Regions from separate parts of the Homo sapiens genome. Here regions 1, 2 and 3 are each linked to region 4. Evidence: promoter capture Hi-C in 16 types of primary human blood cells and fetal thymus (Javierre and others, 2016). All regions are on one chromosome and are shown on one strand. The core of a region is centred on a gene start or on the middle of the fragment in contact, and the rest is flanking DNA. Distances in the headings are between cores, read along the strand shown.

Region 1 (3,036 bases), core at 223-2,722, 290 kb after region 4:
TGACATGGATGCAGTTGATGCTGAAAATCAGGTGGAACTAGAGGAAAACAACACGACTTATTAATCAAGTGTGGAAATTCCAACTCATACTTGAAGATCTCTCTGCAAGAGCAAACACAGGTAAGGAAGAAAATCTGAAGCTAAAATCAGAAAACCAAGTTGTTGGACAACATATAGAAAATCTCATGTCAGCTTCTGGTGTTTTTCAAACAACTGACACCGAAAGCAAAAGAAAGTAAGGAATTGACACACTTCTGTTTTACAGAATTGCTGCTGATAATTTTTTCTTTTAAACTTGGACAGATTCCAAAAAGTTACAGCATCTTTGTGGCTTCATTGAATATTTATGAAGAAAATGTCAGGTGAGGCAAAATTAACAGCATTAACAGGAGACTTCCCTAAGTTTGTATATTATATTAGTCTATGAAAACATGCAGTCTCTCCCTCTCCCTCCCCCTCCCCCTCCCTCTCCCCACGGTCTCCCTCTCTTTCCACGGTCTCCCTCTCATGCGGAGCCGAAGCTGGACTGTACTGCTGCCATCTCGGCTCACTGCAACCTCCCTGCCTGATTCTCCTGCCTCAGCCTGCCGAGTGCCTGCGATTGCAGGCACGCGCCGCCACGCCTGACTGGTTTTGGTGGAGACGGGGTTTCGCTGTGTTGGCCGGGCCAGTCTCCAGCCCCTAACCGCAAGTGATCCGCCAGCCTCGGCCTCCCGAGGTGCCGGGATTGCAGACGGAGTCTCGTTCACTCAGTGCTCAATGGTGCCCAGGCTGAAGTGCAGTGGTGTGATCTCGGCTCGCTACAACCTCCACCTCCCAGCCGCCTGCCTTGGCCTCCCAAAGTGCCGAGATTGCAGCCTCTGCCCGGCCGCCACCCTGTCTGGGAAGTGAGGAGTGTCTCTGCCTGGCCGCCCATCGTCTGGGATGTGAGGAGCCCCTCTGCCTGGCTGCCCAGTCTGGAAAGTGAGGAGCGTCTCCGCCCGGCCGCCATCCCATCTAGGAAGTGAGGAGCGCCTCTTCCCGGCCGCCATCCCATCTAGGAAGTGAGGAGCGCCTCTTCCCGGCCGCCATCCCATCTAGGAAGTGAGGAGCGCCTCTTCCCGGCCGCCATCCCATCTAGGAAGTGAGGAGCGCCTCTTCCCGGCCGCCATCACATCTAGGAAGTGAGGAGCGTCTCTGCCCGGCCGCCCATCGTCTGAGATGTGGGGAGCGCCTCTGCCCCGCCGCCCCATCTGGGATGTGAGGAGCGCCTCTGCCCGGCCGAGACCCCCTCTGGGAGGTGAGGAGCGTCTCTGCCCGGCCGCCACGTCTGAGAAGTGAGGAGCCCCTCCGCCCGGCAGCCGCCCCGTCTGAGAAGTGAGGAGCCTCTCCGCCCGGCAGCCACCCCATCTGGGAAGTGAGGAGCGTCTCCGCCCGGCAGCCACCCCGTCCGGGAGGGAGGTGGGAGGTCAGCCCCCTGCCCGGCCAGCCGCCCCGTCCGGGAGGGAGGTGGGGGGGTCAGCCCCCCGCCCGGCCAGCCGCCCCGTCCGGGAGGTGAGGGGCGCCTCTGCCCGGCCGCCCCTACTGGGAAGTGAGGAGCCCCTCTGCCCGGCCACCACCCTGTCTGGGAGGTGTGCCCAACCGCTCATTGAGAACAGGCCAGGATGACAATGGCGGCTTTGTGGAATAGAAAGGTGGGAAAGGTGGGGAAAAGATTGAGAAATCGGATGGTTGCCGTGTCTGTGTAGAAAGAAGTAGACATGGGAGACTTTTCATTTTGTTCTGTACTAAGAAAAATTCTTCTGCCTTGGGATCCTGTTGATCTGTGACCTTACCCCCAACCCTGTGCTCTCTGAAACATGTGCTGTGTCCACTCAGGGTTAAATGGATTAAGGGCGGTGCAAGATGTGCTTTGTTAAACAGATGCTTGAAGGCAGCATGCTCGTTAAGAGTCATCACCACTCCCTAATCTCAAGTACCCAGGGACACAAACACTGCGGAAGGCCGCAGGGTCCTCTGCCTAGGAAAACCAGAGACCTTTGTTCACTTGTTTATCTGCTGACCTTCCCTCCACTATTGTCCCATGACCCTGCCAAATCCCCCTCTGTGAGAAACACCCAAGAATTATCAATAAAAAAATAAATTAAAAAAAAAAAAAAGGAAAACATGCAAATGAATTGTAGAAACTTTATCATTACAGTTGCACATATTGGCCAGGTGCAGTGGCACATGCCTGTAATCCCAGAACTTTGGGAGGCGGAGGCATGTGGATTGCCTGAGGTCAGGAGTTCGAGACCAGCCTGGCAACATGGTGAAACCCCATTCCTACTAAAAATACAAAATAATTAGCCAGGCGTGGTGGCTTATGCCTGTAATCCCAGCTATTCGGCAGGCCGAGGCAGGGGAATTGCTTGAACCTGGGAGGTGGAGGCTGCAGTGAGCTGAGGTTGCTCCGTTGCACTCCAGCCTTGGTGACAGAGCGAGACTGCATTTAAAAAAAAAGAATTGCATATATTTATGAAACTTAAAGATGAATGTTTTATCAAATTTTCCTTGATTTGTAGATTTAGCACTGTCTTTTATTAGAGGCTTACTAAGATATACAAGAAAAATAACCACACGTTGTGAAAAAGTGACCGGAATCATACACTGAATGCGTAGCCTCATGTACCCTGTCCGTCATCTTATGCCTCTTCTCCACTTGCCTCTTCCTCTTTACCTTCCTCGAAGGAAAGAATTGGTTTCACATTTGTAAAAGTCATTTTAATAGTTAATCATCTCAGAGAGTAACCTGCACTTTAATTGTTGAAACTTAACCAAAATAAGATACAGAAAGTATCTGTATCTGAGAAACAGCTAGGGCTTGTCATTTTTTATATTTAGTATTAAGACAAGAATGCTGGTTTCTCTTTAATCCATTTAAAACAGAGGGAAGCTATAAAAATAAAGATTTTTCTTTGAGGCTGAATTGTCAACTTAGGAAGATTTGTTGTTAAAAATTTGTTTTTGCACAAAGTAACTCACTTCATCTTATCTGGAAAGATAAGTTGGTCAAGT
Region 2 (3,290 bases), core at 791-3,290, 440 kb after region 4:
CTGGGTTTGCGAATGGGTAGGACGCACCCCTAGAATGGGTAGCACGGGGGTGGGCTGGTGTGTGGGCAGAGGAAAATGGAGGCGCTGAAAATCAGATTTTCTTTAACCGTTTGATTAAAAAAGCAGTTCACACGAATGTGTGAAGTATTTGGATTGTGGATATTAGGTACCCACGTTTTATTCCCAGGTTGCTTTACTTCTCTGTACTTTGGGGGAAACCTTTTTGCTGCAAGCTTTCGTGTGTTTGAATATCATAGACTTTTTAAAAAGTAAAATTCCACATGGAAGCAAAGTAATATAAGGGGAACAAGTAATGAAAGAGAAAACACTGAGTTAGTGAGTTCCAAATCAACTCCATCCCCAGGTGGGGTTTTGTTTAAATTAGGCATAGCATACAAAGATTTATCACATTAGTTAAGGAACACATATAGACCACAAAAATATCTTATAGATTGGTTCTCTTCAGTATCCCAAAAGATTATTTTTAAAGTTCGGTTTGTTTTGAGACAGGGTCTCACTTTGTCACCCAAGCTGGAATGCATGGCGCGAACATAGCTCACTACAGCAGCTACTCCTGGGCTCAAGCGATCCTCCCACTTCAGCCTCCTGAGTAGCTGGAACTAAAGGCGTGCACCACCACACGTGGCTAATTTTTGTATTTTTTTGTAAAGACGAGTCTTGCCATGTTGCCCAGGCTGGTCTTGAACTCCTGCCCTCAAGCGACCCTCCTGCCTCGGCCTCTAAAAGTGCTGAGATTACAGGTGTAAGCCACTGTGCCAGCCCAAAACATTATTTTCAGTAGCTCTCTACTGCTTAATGAATGTTCTCCATGCCGTCTCAAACTCTTAAATCTTTTTCAGGAGTGTTAGCGTACAGCAGAAGATAAGAACTCTTAAAAATCTCAGCATCAGATTCTGGAGAATAGGGAGGGAGAACATGGAATATTTGAATAGAATAACAGGCAGCAGAGTAGGAATTAGTTTTATTAGGGAACTGAAATTCTCTATTGATTGATTGTAGTTATAAGGACTCCAATTTAATTTGTTTTCTGTTCCATGCAGAGGACAAAAGCATGTCTTCCCTTCCTGGGTGCATTGGTTTGGATGCAGCAACAGCTACAGTGGAGTCTGAAGAGATTGCAGAGCTGCAACAGGCAGTGGTTGAGGAACTGGGTATCTCTATGGAGGAACTTCGGCATTTCATCGATGAGGAACTGGAGAAGATGGATTGTGTACAGCAACGCAAGAAGCAGCTAGCAGAGTTAGAGACATGGGTAATACAGAAAGAATCTGAGGTGGCTCACGTTGACCAACTCTTTGATGATGCATCCAGGTGAGAACTCCATGGAAAATAGAAGGAAATCTCTCCATTGGGAGATGTTTTTAGAGAATAATTGTTCATGACATTGAACCAAGCATTTTATTTTATGTTTTGAGACGGAGTCTCGCTCTGTCACCCAAGCTAGAGTGCAGTGGAGTGATCCTGGCTCACTGCAACCTCCACCTCTCGGGTTCAAGTGATTCTCCCACCTCCCCCTCCCGAGTAGCTGGAATTATAGGCATCCGCCACCACACCCAGCTAATTTTTTATATTTTTAGTAGAGACAGGGTTTCACCATGTTGGCCAGGCTGTGTACCAAACATTTTATACTTTATGAAGTACAGATGTTTAGAACCTTACTCTTCCTCAAAGTTTATGGTCAAAAATCTGACCTTACAATCAGCCGTAAATATAATTTTCATCTGTCAGCAGCTAATACATGATCAGCAGTAAGGGAGTCCAAGTCTTAAGTCCTTTCCCCTTCTTCCTCCTGTGCTCTATCTTAGAACAATTGCTTCATTTCCCTAGTAAGATCATCCAGGGAGTGAGGATTGTAAAGAATTTCTGTCTTACGTAACTCTGAAGCATTAGTAAGTTCCCATACCCCCAAAAGATTTGTTTCTGGTGCTCTAGTTGTCACTTAGAATACATTGTTTTTAAATTTATTATACTTTAAGTTCTAGGGTATATGTGCACAACGTGCAGGTTTATTACATATGTATACATGTGCCATGTTGGTGTCACTTACATTAGGTATATCTCCTAATACTATCCCTCCCCCTTCCCCCCACCCCACGACAGGCCCCAGTATGTGACGTTCCCCATCCTGTGTCCAGGTGTTCTCATTGTTCAATTCCCACCTATGAATGAGAACGTGCGGTGTTTGGTTTTCTGTCCTTGCTATAGTTTGCTCAGAATGATGGTTTCCAGCTTCATCCATGTGCCTACAAAGGACATGAACTCATCCTTTTTTATGGCTGCATAGTATTCCATGGTGTATATGTGCCACATTTCTTAATCCAGTCTATCATTGATGGACATTTGGGTTGGTTTAAAGTCTTTGCTATTGTGGATAGTGCCGCAATAAACATACGTGTGCATGTGTCTTTATAGCAGCATGATTTATAATCCTTTGGGTATATACCCAGTAATGGGATTGCTGGGTCAAATGGTATTTCTAGTTCTAGATCCTTGAGGAATCGCCACACTGTCTTCCACAATGGTTGAACAAGTTTACAGTCCCACCAACAGTGTAAAAGTGTTCCTGTTTCTCTACATCCTCTCCAGCACCTGTTGTTTCCTGACTTTTTAATGATCGCCATTCTAACTGGTGTGAGACGGTATCTCATGGTGGTTTTGATTTGCATTTCTCTGATGGCCACTGATAATGAGCATTTTTTTATTTTATTTTTATTTTATTTTATTTTTTTTTTAGACAGAGACTTGCTCTGTCTCACCCAGGCTGGAGTACAGTGACGTGATCTCGGCTCACTGCAGCCTCCGCCTCCCGAGTTCAAGCAGCTCTCCTGTCTCAGCCTCCGGAGTAGCTGGGACGACAAGCGTGTGCCACCACACCCGGCTAATTTTTGTATTTTTAGTAGAGATGGAGTTTTACCATGTCGGCCAGGCTGGGGAGGTCAAATTCCTGACCTCAAGTGATCTACCTGCCTCAGCCTCCCAAATTGCTGGGATTGCAGGTGTGAGCCACCACTGCCAGCCAGGATACATTTTCAGATAACAGCAAGGTAAATAATGAGGTAAGGGTGAAAGTACTGTACTTTGGGCTTACTTTGGATTTTTGAGGAACTAGTCTGGAAACTAAACCACTATTTAAAACATTTTTCTATAGAAAAAGCATTCTAAATTCTAAACAGAGACACTTTGGAATGTGGCCCATTTAAATTGAGGACTGTCTATACTTAAATATATATACATCGTAATGGATTCTATATCTCTTAATTCCTCTACTG
Region 3 (3,014 bases), core at 144-2,643, 390 kb after region 4:
CTCAGCACTTCCTGCAATGTAATTTTTGCGATTAATTTTACCTCCCTTTCCTTCAAAAAAAATTTAAAAGATTAAAAAAAAATGACGTGACAAATTAACCATTTCTTAAAATAGCTATTCCCAGAAACACGGTAGAAAAGAAATTTCAGTGATTCAACTGTCCTATCAAAATCTGGATATTGCAAAATCATACTGCCTTTCAGTAACATGAAAAAAAATCTAATTTAAATTTCAACGTGGGGATGGGGGTAATCACTCCTACTGTTTTATTTTCAAGAAATTCTCCGCCCCACGCAACACACACACATATCTCAAGGCCCTTTTTAAGGCTATCAAATATATTGGTTTTTGGAAAAGGATAGACTTTATTTGGCAAGAATAACCAAGGTCTCCAAGATAAACTAGACCCCTAAAATGAAATGCCTTCTAAAGAGGAATAACTGTAACATAGAGGAAAGAGGGCTGGGACTAGTAATTTGAAGATCTGATCTCTCTAGAACTGCACTACACCCTACTCCATCTCTTAGACAAAACAGACCAAACCTTTTTGATATTTGATTATTTTTTGAAATTGAGAAATGGTGTGGAATCAAACTTTTCTGAAAGAGTTTGGAAATTGCCTCGACGTAGGCCTAACAAGATTTAAACCTGGGGCTGTGGAACTAAAGACCTGTCCGGAACCATAACCATTACACAAACCCCTGCCCTCAGCAGGCAAAGACCTACAGGCCCTCTTAACACAAGATCTAAGTTTCAAAGTATAGTCCGGGGACGGAGACGGGGACGGGGGTTGCGGGTGGGAGGTAACAGCCTAAAGAAACGTCGTATATATCAAAGAATGTCCATTTTTTATTTTTTAAATTAAAATCTAAACCTTTAAATGTTTGGAAGCAACGCCTCAACTAAAGAGCAGTGTGGTCCAGGGTTTATGAATCCAAACTACTCTTAAAGTAAACCGAGACACTCTGCCTACAGTTTTCGGCATCAAGCGGCTCCAGCGGGCAGAGGGTTAAAAGAGGACCACATCACAGACCAGACGCCGACCGAGGAGTGAGGGCGGGCCAGCCCCGCACTGGCTGCCGCTCCAACGGAGGTCAGGACAGGGAGCCCCCCTCAACTCCCACCTGCCCCCTCGCTCCCTTGGGTATACTCGAGTCTACCCAAGTCCCCGGGATCGGGCCCCTCCCCAGGTCACCGCTCCCCCACCGTCTCTCGCGGCCCCCGCCCCGCCCCGGCGCCTTCAGCTCCAGCTGCGTCCCCTCAGCCCTGGGTCTCCTTAGTTGTCAGCCCCTTCGGCCCCTCCCCTTTAGAGGCGCCCCAGTCCTCCGTCTCCTCACCGGGGTTGGCAGTAGTCGCCGCCATGGCCGCAGATGCCACCGCCGCCGCGCCACCCCCCCCCCCAGTGGGAGGAGCCGCCGCCACCGAACCGGGAGGGAGGGGAAAAGAAAGGCCACTCCCCAGAAGCGGCGCCTGACCGCCGCCTCCGCTACCGCGGAATCCAAGATGGCGGCTTCAGCAGCCCCCAGCATCCCAGCCCCTGCGGCGGGGAGACCCCGCCTATATAGTAGGCGGAGTCAACACACGGCCAGCCTCCTAAGAAAAATTGACCAATGAAAATGCCAAATCGTCCAAGGGCAGGGCTACTCACTGCGCCAGCCAGTCCAGTGAAGGGAGGGCGAGGAAGAAGTCCAGCTGTCTCCCTAATCTCGCCCTCCTTGCGTAAGAGGTCAATGACCGAGTAACGTCATTGAAATGCAATTAAAATGGGTATTTTAGGCTGGGCGCGGTGGCTCGCGTCTGTAATCCCAGCACTTTGGGAGGCCGAGGCGGCCGGATCACCTGTGGCCAGGGGTTCGAAACCAGCCTGGCCAACATGGCGAAACCCCGTCTCTACTAAAAATACAAAATTAGCCGGGCGTGGTGGCGCATGCCTGTAATCCCAGCTTCTTGGGAGGCTGAGGCAGGAGAATCGCTTGAACCTGGGAGGCAGAGGTTGCAGTGAGCCGAGATAGCGCCACTGCACGCCAGTCTGGGCAACAAGAGCGAAACTCCGTCTCAAAAAAAAAAAAAAGGATATTTTACTAAAAACCTTCGCTTGGTGGTGGATTCGTCTGAGTGGTTGCCGTGCAGACAATGTATCTTGTAAATCCTCTTTAGGTGCTAAAGAGCACCTAAACATCACATGGTGATTTGTAATCCTTTCCAGTTTTTTTCCTCTTTTAAGGACTTTTGTCCCTGGTGAAAAAGTTAAATGACTAACTTTTGAATGCCTGCTATGGAACCGGTAGTCTAAAAGGATCCAGGTGTTAACGGTTTGGTATGGGAGATATTGCCAGCCAAAATTGGAGGCAATAGATGAAGAAAGTAATTTGAGAATGGGTAACTTCTTTGGTCAGTGACAGGGACAGAGTGAGGAGTTTTGTTTGTCTGTTTTTGAGACAGAGTCTCTCTCTGTCGCCCAGGCTGGAGTGCAGTGGCGCAATCTCGGCTCACTGCAACCTCCACCTCCCCGGTTCAAGCAATTCCCCTGCCTCAGTCTCCTGAGTAGCTGGGATTACAGGCGCACGCCACACGCCTGGCTAATGTTTTTTGTATTTTTAGTAGAGATGGAGTTTCACGACGTTGGCCAGGCTGGTCTCGAACTCCTGACATCAGGCAATCTGCCCGCCTCGGTCTCACAAACTGTTGGGATTACAGGCGTGAGCCACCACACCTGGCCAGTGAGGAGTTTTTAATAGGGAATCAATAAGATGATGGCTGTGCAGATTTATTTTCTTTTTTCTTTATTTTTTTCTGAGACGGAGTCTTGCTCCATCACCCAGGCTGGAGTGCAGTGGTGCGATCTTGGCTCACTGCAACCTCTCCCTCCCGGGTTCAAGCAGTTATCCTGCCTCAGCCTCCTGAGTAGCTGGGATTACAGGCGCGCACCACCACGCCCGGCTAATTTTTGTTTCCTGGTAATAGGAAGCATTGAGCTATTCGAGGTAGGCACTGTCCAAAATGCTTTATATGTA
Region 4 (3,247 bases), core at 680-3,179:
TGAGGTGATGGGGGAGTATACTGGGAGCAAACTCTTCTAGAGAAAGCATGGTGTGGTAAAAGAAAACCAAGCTTGGATTCAGAAATCACCATCAGCACTTGCTGTTTGACCTTAAATTCCTCATCTGTCAGATTAAAAGGTCTCGGCCGGGCATGGTGGCTCACGCCTGTAATCCCAGCACTTTGGGAGGCTGAGGCAGGCGGATCACCTGATGCTGGGAGTTCGGGACCAGCCTGACCAACATGGAGAAACCCTGTCTCTACTAAAAATACAAAATTAGCTGGGCCTGGGGTGGCACATGCCTGTAATCCCAGCTACTCGGGAGGCTGAGGCAGGAGAAGCGCTTGAACCTGGGGAGGCGGAGGTTGCGGTAAGCCGAGATCACGCCACTGCACTCCAGCCTGGGCAACAAGAGTGAAACTCCATCTCAAAAAAAAAAAAAAAAGATTAAAAGGTCTATAAAGTCCCTATTAAGCACCATGAGTATAAAGGGACTCAAACTGACCTCTGCAGATTCTTGATTCCAGCTTTTTTGTTTTTGTTTTGTTTTGAGATGAAGTCTCGCTCTTGTCCCCCAGGCTGGAGTGCATGGCGTGATCTCGGCTCACTGCAACCTCCACCTCCCGGGTTCAAGCGATTCTCCTGTCTCAGCCTCCCAAGTAGCTGGGATTACAGGCGCCCACCACCATGCCCAGCTAATTTTTGTATTTTTAGTAGAGACGGGGTTTCACCATGTTGGCCAGGCTGGTCTAGAACTCCTGACCTCAGGTGATCCACCCGCCTCGGCCTCCCAAGTAGCTGGGATTACAGGCGCCCACCACCACGCCCAGCTAATTTTTGTATTTTTAGTAGAGACGGGGTTTCACCATGTTGGCCAGGCTGGTCTAGAACTCCTGACCTCAGGTGATCCACCTGCCTCGGCCTCCCAAAGTGCTGGGATTACAGCGTGAGCCACTGCGCGCGGCCATCTTTGCTCCAGCTTTAAAGTGGTTACTCCAGAGGCTGAGGTGGTCAGTTGAGCCCAGGAGGTCGAGACTGCAGTGAGCCATGATTGTACCCCTGCACTCCAGCCTGGGCAACGGTGAGACCTTGTCTCAAAATTAAAAAATAAAACTGTTACAGTCATTTATCATAATAGCTTCTTGTTGCTTTTGCCCATTACCAAAAAACCATGGGCCACACTAGACGATTTACATAAAATTTAACTCAACAATTGGGAGCAACACTATTCTCATTTTATAGTTGAGAAAATTGAGGCTTAGAGAAATTAAATAGGTCAGGCAAGGCGGCTCATGCCTGTAATTCCAGAACTCTGGGAGGCCGGAGCGCGGTGGCGGTTTGGTGGGGGGGAGGGGAGGGATTGCTTGAGGCCAGGAGTTCGAGACTACCCTGGCCAACATAGTGAGACCCGCCCCCCCCTCCCGCCCCCCCCGGTCTCTATTAAATAAATATGAGAAGTTTAATAATTTTCCCAAAATTACATAGTTAATGGCAGATCCAGAATTTACACTAGGTCTGTCTGGTTCCCCAGTCTATGCTCTTAAGTTTTGCTACTTGCTGTAAGGACCACGTAAAATAAAATGTATAGTTAAAGGGAAATTACTACCATTTCCTGTCTGGTTTTCTCCCACTCTCGCCCTCAAAAGTTCACCTGCCCTTGTCCTCAAAGCCACAGGACGCCTAATTGCTATTTTTGGGTTTCAGCTGAAACGCCACGGGTCTGGGGGAATAGCGAGGGTGTGTTACATTTTCGGTCTTCCGGTCAGCCGGAACCACTCACACCGCTGCTGGTGCTGTGTAGGGTGTACCTCTTCGGAGTTCCTGGAGGTGGTGCCAGACTAGAGTGGCAGCTGTAGTAACCAATAGACACGGACTTTGTTGGACCAGAAGCCAATGAAGAATTACGTGGAGGAGAAGCGGCGATAATCTGTTTGAGGATGTAGGCACTGGTGTGAAGGAACATGGCCCTGTATCAGAGGTGGCGGTGTCTCCGGCTCCAAGGTTTACAGGCTTGCAGGCTACACACGGTGCGTGAGGCACCCCCAAAGCTCCGATCCGCATCAGACTTAGCCCAGCCGAAGCCCCCAAATTTTTATGTTAACCCAGCCTCACGCCACTCCTCCTCTCCCTGGTCCTCCGAGTCCCCAGAAAAGGACTCGTATCTAAACTCGTTATCTAATTCTCGAGTTAGCGGTCTGGGGGACTCTGAGCTCGAAGGACCCCCAGCCTAGGGTCTTGTATCACCCAATCCCCTTAAAAAGTAGGAATTCGGACGAAGTCCACTTAACCATCCCAAAGTGCCATCATCTGCAATTCTAAGAAAGAATGATGGGACGTGTGTTACCTGCTAATATATCTTTCCCTCCAGGCAGTTGTGTCGACCCCTCCACGCTGGTTGGCAGAGCGGCTTGGCCTTTTTGAGGAGCTGTGGGCTGCTCAGGTAAAGAGATTAGCAAGCATGGCACAGAAGGAACCCCGGACTATTAAGATATCACTTCCTGGAGGCCAGAAAATTGATGCTGTGGCATGGAACACAACCCCCTACCAACTAGCCCGGCAGATCAGGTAACAGGCCCATCCTGTAACTACCAGGATTATCCTTCTGCCCCTTTACTTTCTCTTCACTTGAGCAGGGGAAGAAAACTTGGTCTGCTTGTTTCTGTTCCGTCCCCATTAAGATAGCCTTTCCTGAAGATTTTGTTTTTGTTTTTTGTTGTTGTTCTTTTATACAGACGGGGTCTCTCCATGTTGCCCAGGCTAGTCTTGAACTCCTGGGCTCAAGCGATCCTTCCATCTCAGCCTCCCGAAGTGCTGGGATTACAGGCATGAGCCACCAAACCCGGCCTGAGATTTGTTTTATCTGTATTAGTTTCTGCATCAGAGTCTCTGTCCTTTCATTGGGGAAAGAAATGAAAGCTTCTGTTGCTCTGGTAACTCATTTCACCTTTGCAAGTTTACAGTTGCTGAGAGATGAGCAACTTTCTCCCCACTGTGGATTGTAACCCTGTCTGTTTTAAATCATTAATTTACTTTTTAATAATTGATACATAATAATTGAACATATGAATGGGTATATGTGATATTTTGATATATGCATACAATATGTAATGATCAAATCAGGGTGTTCAGGATATCTGTTACCCCAAACATTTATCATTTCTTTGTGTTGGGACTATTTCAAATCTTCTAGCTATTTTGAAATATACAATAAATTATTATTAACTGTATTCACCCAACTCTGCTATGG

Evidence for each region. The method cuts DNA at HindIII sites, captures the fragments that hold promoters and counts their contacts. A CHiCAGO score of 5 or more calls a contact.
Region 1: a contact is called between a fragment that was not itself captured here and the fragment with the promoter of TARS2 in region 4, in 1 of 17 cell types (neutrophils). The highest score is 5.3, in neutrophils.
Region 2: a contact is called between a fragment that was not itself captured here and the fragment with the promoter of TARS2 in region 4, in 1 of 17 cell types (non-activated CD4 T cells). The highest score is 5.4, in non-activated CD4 T cells.
Region 3: a contact is called between the fragment with the promoter of ARNT here and the fragment with the promoter of TARS2 in region 4, in 8 of 17 cell types (fetal thymus, naive CD8 T cells, neutrophils and 5 more). The highest score is 8.4, in fetal thymus.

Annotation. Positions count from the first base shown.
Region 1 is chr1:150,780,412-150,783,447 of GRCh38, forward strand. It overlaps the pseudogene LOC100132571. Among named protein-coding and RNA genes, the nearest start is that of CTSS, 16 kb to the left of the region's middle. RefSeq lists enhancers at 463-1,320, 1,321-2,177. The HindIII fragment of the contact is 8,697 bases long and covers 1-3,036 here.
Region 2 is chr1:150,926,643-150,929,932 of GRCh38, forward strand. SETDB1 (SET domain bifurcated histone lysine methyltransferase 1) reads left to right here. Exons shown (of 22, transcript NM_001366418.1): 2 at 1,062-1,332. The coding sequence starts at 1,073. Among named protein-coding and RNA genes, the nearest start is that of SETDB1, 1.9 kb to the left of the region's middle. The HindIII fragment of the contact is 3,618 bases long and covers 232-3,290 here.
Region 3 is chr1:150,875,206-150,878,219 of GRCh38, forward strand. It overlaps ARNT (aryl hydrocarbon receptor nuclear translocator), which reads right to left and starts at 1,394. Exons shown (of 22, transcript NM_001668.4): 1 at 1,338-1,394. The coding sequence starts at 1,362. It also overlaps a transcript of LOC107985204 not described here. RefSeq lists silencers at 1,020-1,449, 1,453-1,726. The HindIII fragment of the contact is 12,157 bases long and covers 1-3,014 here.
Region 4 is chr1:150,485,490-150,488,736 of GRCh38, forward strand. TARS2 (threonyl-tRNA synthetase 2, mitochondrial) reads left to right here and starts at 1,930. Exons shown (of 18, transcript NM_025150.5): 1 at 1,930-2,027; 2 at 2,369-2,565. The coding sequence starts at 1,962. RefSeq lists enhancers at 1,755-2,261, 1,755-2,024. The HindIII fragment of the contact is 2,845 bases long and covers 70-2,914 here.